Regions from separate parts of the Homo sapiens genome. Here region 2 is linked to region 1. The links are contacts of gene promoters, found by promoter capture Hi-C in human tissues and cell types (Jung and others, 2019). All regions are on one chromosome and are shown on one strand. The core of a region is centred on a gene start or on the middle of the fragment in contact, and the rest is flanking DNA. Distances in the headings are between cores, read along the strand shown. Region 1 holds the start of SLC22A14 (solute carrier family 22 member 14). Region 2 has its middle 6.1 kb from the start of MYD88.

The links. The method cuts DNA at HindIII sites, captures the fragments that hold promoters and counts their contacts. A contact is called where the count stands out against the background at its distance.
Region 2: a contact is called between a fragment that was not itself captured here and the fragment with the promoter of SLC22A14 in region 1, in 2 of the 25 tissues and cell types used here (liver and spleen).

Annotation. Positions count from the first base shown.
Region 1 is chr3:38,280,856-38,284,102 of GRCh38, forward strand. It overlaps SLC22A14 (solute carrier family 22 member 14), which reads left to right and starts at 1,439. Exons shown (of 11, transcript NM_001320033.2): 1 at 1,439-1,484. The HindIII fragment of the contact is 14,250 bases long and covers 230-3,247 here.
Region 2 is chr3:38,143,182-38,146,428 of GRCh38, forward strand. No RefSeq gene overlaps it. Among named protein-coding and RNA genes, the nearest start is that of MYD88, 6.1 kb to the left of the region's middle. RefSeq lists an enhancer at 690-749. The HindIII fragment of the contact is 3,478 bases long and covers 1-3,247 here.

The sequences.
Region 1 (3,247 bases), core at 189-2,688:
CTGACCTCAGGTGATCCGTCTGCCTCAGCCTCCCAAAGTGCTGGGATTACAGGCGTGAGCCACCATGCCCAGCCGAGTTCTGGGATCTTATGTAACCAAAACAAACCAAAACAAAGGGGTGCTCCCACCCTGCTCTTCAGTCTCACTGATGGCTTCTGGGTGCTCACTGTGCTGTCTGCTTGGTCCCTTTGACCCCCAGAGTGCTGCTGCTCAAGAGTGGGGAACTCTAGGGGGGATGAGGGGCCTAGGACCAACCACTGAGGTGACCTGCAGACACCCCGAGGGAGGTCTGGTGAAAGAGGAAGGATCTGATGCCCCAGATACCAATAAGATTGCAGTGCCCTGCCCCCAAACAAGTGAAGATTGAGCCATAGGAAACTGCAAAAGAGCTGTAAGTAGGTTTCCCTGTGATCAATACTTCATTTTTTTTCAAATATATGAAATTCTTTTAATTTTTTTTTGTGTCTTAAGTGTCTGTGTTAGTCCATTTTCTGTTGCTTATAACAGACTGCTTGAAACTGAGTTATTTATAAAGAAAAGAAATTTATTTCTTACAGTTCTGGAGGCTGGGAAGTCCAAGGTTTAGGGAATACATCTGGTAAGGGCCTTCTTGCTGTTGGGAACTCTGCAGTCTCCCAAGGGGGCACAGGTGAGGGAACCGAGCAAGCTAGCTTGTCTTTCTTCCTCTTGTTATAAAGTCACCAGTCCCATTCTCATAACTCATTAACCCATTAATCTACTAATCCATGATTGGTGATTCATGGATTAACAGATTACACTCATGACCCAATTACATCTTAAAGGCCCCATCACGCTACCACACTGGAGATGAAGTTTCAACATGAGTTTTGGAGAGGACAAATATTAAGCCATAGCAATGCTCTAATTTTGTTGAGGTCCTAAGTACATGCTGTACTGGTACAAGGATGGTCTGCCTTGTACTAGGCCCTGTGCTGGTTTTCCTGTCCTGCCACTTTGGCCTCCCTTCCCCCAAGCATGAAGCTTGAAGCCCTGTTCCTGCAATCTGGCAGAGGAGGCTTCTAGCTTATGGGGGAGATGGGTCAGACCCCGGCAGCTCTGACCAAGGCTGGTTGGCAGGGGAGTGTCACGGAGAGACAGAGCAGAAGTGAGTGGGGTAGGGCCAAGCCATTTCCAGCTGTGGGCTCAGGAAGGCTTGAAGGATAGTTGATAAATGAGTGATATCTGGAAGGACAGGAGAATTTCCGAGAGTGGAGGTGGAGCCCTCGTGTGGAGGAAACAGCCTGCACAAAGACAGGGGCAGGGGGGTTCGTGTGGCAGTTTTCCTGACCTGCCTTGCCCCTGGAGGCTACAGCCAGTTGTGTCCCTGGAGTAGAATGCTGACCCTCACCATTCCCAGCTCACCCCAAGGACCTCCCCACCCCATTGTGACACTACTTCCTGGACACCAGTGGAGCTCAAAGGTTCTGCTTCCAAGGGTCTGGCTGGGCCTGGATTGTGGTCAGGTGGGCCCTGGCTTTGGCTTGCGGTCCTGCCTACAGGGAGGCAGGGCCGGGAGGGTGTGGAGAGTAGAAATTATGATGACCCCTGGCAATTTTGCGGCCGCGTTCTCAGCACAGGTGTGGACAGGAGCCTGCCTGGGCCTGTTTGGCTGTGGGGAATCTGTGGAAGGAGCGGGCTGCCCTCCCAGAAAGCGTGAGTTCTCAGGTGTGGCGTCTGGCCATCTCCTGCGGCAGGTGGAGTGCTCCTCCTGGCTATGCTTCTCCCAGGCCTCAGTTACCTCTTTGGCACATTGAGAGCCAATTGCCTGGGGCCTGTCCACCTGGCAGAGGACCTTTGGGATGAGTAGAGGGAGTGAGTGCTCCAGGGTATTGGGGTATCAGGTGGTGCTGGGGGATGCTGAAGCGGTCCCTGCAGAGGGAGGCTGGTACAGATGGCTCTGGTCCAGAAGCCACATCTCTGAGAGGACAGCGGAGGCTCTCCCTCCCTGGAAAGTCTCCTTTATCCACCTCCACCCTCTCCAGCCTTACACACATACATCCTGTATTGGTTTCCTATTGCTGCTATAACAAATGCCCACACTTAGTGGCTTGAAACAGCAGAGACTTATTACCTTATGGTTTTGGAGGTCAGAAGAACAAATGGGCCTCAGCAGGCTAAGATCAAGGTCTCAGAAGGATTGCCTTCCTTTCTGGAGGCTCTAGGGCAGAGCTCATTTCCTTCCTTGCCTTTTCCAGCTTCTAGAGCCTCCTGCATTCCTTGGCTCTGGGACCCCTTGCATCTTCAAAGCCACCGACGGCTGCCCAAATCTTTATCACGCTGCATTTCTTTGGGTCTTATGCATTTAAGGATCCTGGGATTAATGGGACCTACCTGACAATCCAGGATAATCTATTTTAAAGTCAGCTAAGTAGTAACCTTAACTTCATCTGTAACTTTAACCCCCCTTGCCATGTAAGGAAACATATTTACGAGTTCTGAGGATTAGGCATAGATCTCTCCGGGGGGCGCTTATGCAGCCTCCCCCACCTCCCAGCACACACACATCTAAGCATGCTCTCCCTCTGTGTTCCCTGCCTCTTATGCACCTCCAAATTCTGCTGAGATAAGGGATCCCGAACTCAGGGCCAGGCAGGAGGCAAAGACAAGTGAAATGGGGAAATGGTGCTGGGCTCTGCTGGGCCTCCTGCATGCACACATCAGAAGTAGCAGGAGCCGGGTGCAGTGGCTCACGCCTGTAATCCCAGCACTTTGGGAGGCCGAGGCGGGAAGATCACTTGAGGTCAGGAGTTCGAGACCAGCCTGGCCAACATGGTGAAACCCCATCTCTACTAAAAATACAAAAATTAGCCAGGCGTGGTGGCTTGCACCTGTAGTACCAGCTACTCGGGAGGCTGAGCCAGTAGAATCACTTGAACCCAGGAAGCAGAGGGTGCAGTAAGCCGAGATCACACCACTACATTCCAGCCTGGGTGACAGACCGAGATTCTGTCTCACAAACAAACAACAACAACAACAATAATAACAAAAAACAGAGCAGACTCTCAGTCTAAAGGAGGGGCCCCTGCTCAGATTTGCTAATTGTTGCCAGATGGGAATGCTGTCCCATTGGCCAAACTTCAAAAAGAAAATGCTGCATTTATGTGAAATCAACTTTTGGCAGTTAAATCACATTCCAAGACACAGTGAGGCACCAAATGGGCTAGCCAAGGGAAATGTGTCTGCAGGCTGGATTTGTCCCGTAGACGATGAGCTGGAGACCTCTTCC
Region 2 (3,247 bases), core at 408-2,907, 140 kb before region 1:
GAATACTGACCTCAGCTACAGACACTCAGGAGACTGCCCTTCTCTGGCCATGTCCAATCTTTTCTTGGTTGTGCCATGCTCCTGGGTCCTGGTCCAGTCTTGGAGTAGGGGCTGATCTATGCTCCAAAGAGAGTCTGGAGGACCCCCCAACTCCAGCCCCTGAGCACTGCATTGTTACTCCTAATAATCTTCTTTGGGCACATCTATGTTAATCCTAAAGGTACTGATCTATTTTTAAAGAAAATATTGCTTTTTCACTGTTGAAGAAAATTTGGAAAAGATAAAGAAAAAAACTCACACATCATAATTCCAGAGAGAACTCTAGTGACATTTTAGAGTGCTCAGACATTGTCAGTGACAGTAGCTTTTTTCTCAATGGTCTATCTGCTGCCACGTCCTGGCTCCTGAGCCACCTGGATGCTGTAGCCTCCCCAGCCTTGCCCCTGTGCCCTCAGGGACTCCTGGGAAGGCCCTGTGTACTCAGAGAACCCCTGAGGCCGAGTCTTTCTCTCCAGCATCCCCTGGGGAGCAGAGCCACAGTGTGGCCCTGGCGGTGCCCCCAGGATCTGCCATGTGCTGCCCATGGCTGGGAAGACAGTCCTGGGCTGGTCCCCTCTTGGGAAAAGCCTCTCTTCTCTTAGGCCAGGCTGTTGACCCAAATGTGCTCTCCCCACCCCTATCTGACCCTCACACTCCTCACACCTGCCTGTCTCCAGTGCCTTCCTTCCCATTAGCTGTGTTCCCAAATGTAGATAAAGCTTCCTCTTCTCATTTTCAGTTTTAGTCCTCTACGAGCATTTAAAAGAGAAACTTTCCTTTTTCAATAAGGAAAATTTACGCTGAAATTATCAAAGGCAAAGCAGGAAACTTTGGAGGGCAGCAGCATAGTTGAAATTCAAAACTACGATTCTGTGTGACGATGGAGATGGATTCCGCCACAAGTCAATGACCAGGGAGAGAATTGGGGAGAGGGATTTCCTTTAGATTAGATAAGACTTGGGTCATAACGATCAAATATACTGATATAGTATAACTTTGTTGGATTCTGGCTCAAACAGAGCAATTGTAAAAAGACAATATTGAGTCATATATCTGATAAGGGGTTAATATCTGGAATGTATAAAAAAAAAAACTCTTAGAAATCAACAACAAAAGAAACAAGCAACCTAACTCAAAAATGGGCAAAAGACTTGGGCAGAAGTTTCTCCAAAGAAGATATACAAATGAGGGACAGGTGTGGTGGCTCACATTTGTAATCTCAGCACTTTGGGAGGCTGAGGCGGGTGGATTGCTTGAGCCCAGGAGTTGGAGACCAGCCTGGACTACATGGCAAAACCCTGTCTCTAAAAAAAAATACAAAAATTAGCCAGGCGTAGTGGCATGCACCTGTAGTCCCAGCCACTCGGGAGGCTGAGGTGGGAAGATCGCCTAGGAGACGAAGGTTGCCGCAAGCCAAGATTGCACCACTGCACTCTAGCTTGGGCAACAGAGCGAGACCCCATCTAAGAAAAAAAAGAAACAAACAAAAAGAAAAAAAATACAAATGGCCAATAAGCACATAAAAATATGCTCAATATCACTAATTAGGGAAAGCAAATCAGAACCACCATGAGACAGATACCACTTCATACCCATTAGGATGGCTACTATCAAAAAAAAAAAAAAAAAAAAAAAAAAATATATATATATATATATATATATATATATAACAAACATTGAAGATGTGGACAAATCGGAACCTTTGATCACTTTTGATGGGAATATAAAATGGCATAGCTGCTATAGTAAACAGTATGGCAATTCCTCAAAAAATTACAAACAGAATTACCATATGACCCAGCAATTCCACTTGGGAGTATATACCCCAAAGAATTGAAAGCAGGGTCTTGAAGACATGTTTGTATATCCATGTTTGTAGCAGCATTATTCACAATAGACAAAAGGTATAACCAAGCCAACATCTATCAACAGATGAATGGGTAAATGAAATGTGGTATATATGTACAAAAGATTATTACTTAGCTTTAAAAATGAAAGACATTCTGACATATGCTGCAACATCAAATAACTTTGATGATATTATGCTAAGTGAAATAAGACAGGCTGGGCACAGCGGCTCATGCCTGTAATCCCAGCACTTTGGGAGGCTGAGGCGGGTGGATCATTTGAGGTCAGGAGTTCAAGACCAGCCTGGCACACATGGTGAAACCCTGTCTCTACAAAAAATACAAAAATTAGCCAGGCATGGTGGTGCATTCCTGTAATCCCAGCTACTTGGGTAGCTGAGGCAGGAGAATCGCTTGAACCCGGAAGGTTGAGGTTTCAGTGAGCTGAGATCATGCCATTGCGCTAACAGAGCAAGACTCTGTCTCAAAAAAAAAAAAAAATTCACACAGCAGAACACTGGGCTGGTAAGGGTGGAAGATGAGGGGCCGCACCATCAATTTAGGGGAACATTGTCCCCACTGGCTGCTATTTGCCAGATGATACAGAATAAATGTTTTAAATGCCCTTGGGGATGTCTGGTTCTGAGACAATATAGAGTAAAAACACTTCTCCTTATTCCCTCTGCTAAATACAGGCAAAACACCCTGGACATTATATAAAACACAAATATAAGGAGACTCTGAAAGGTGGAGAGAAGAAGATAGAATGGTTAGGGACCTCAGGACCTATGGAATGACATGGCACTAGCCTAGGGTTTTCTTTTTGCCTATGCCTAATGGATCTCAGACTGAGTATGGAGAAGGCAGAAACCTATAAACTAATGAGTACAGGTAAAGGAAAAAAAAGAAAAAAAAAAAAGGAAAACCTGCTTTTACTAGCCAAACGACCAGAAAGGGACAGTCTTGCAAGAAAGAAAGTTTGTAGACAATAACCACTCCAGCTAAACCATAGAAAAAATTGTAGTATTACCTACACCCTGCCAGCAAAGGCAAAATGGGGAATCTAAATTTCCACTCCCACCTTCTTGGGTGTCAGAGTGGGTCTAGTAGAGAGTCAAGACTTTCACCACTGCCCAGCAGTAATGTCCTCTATCATGTCAGTGGAGGCCAGATGGGGAGTAGTAACAAGGCATCCTTCTCCCTCCCAGCCAAGGTGGTATCAGGGGAGACTTAGTGGGCAGCCTGAACTCTCATCCTGACCCAGCAGTAACTAGGCACTCTCTCCCTTGTTCTCCCTCACCTCTACCCTGGGATGTCAATAGAGTAACCTGCACTTCTACCTCCACCAGACAGCATTGTTT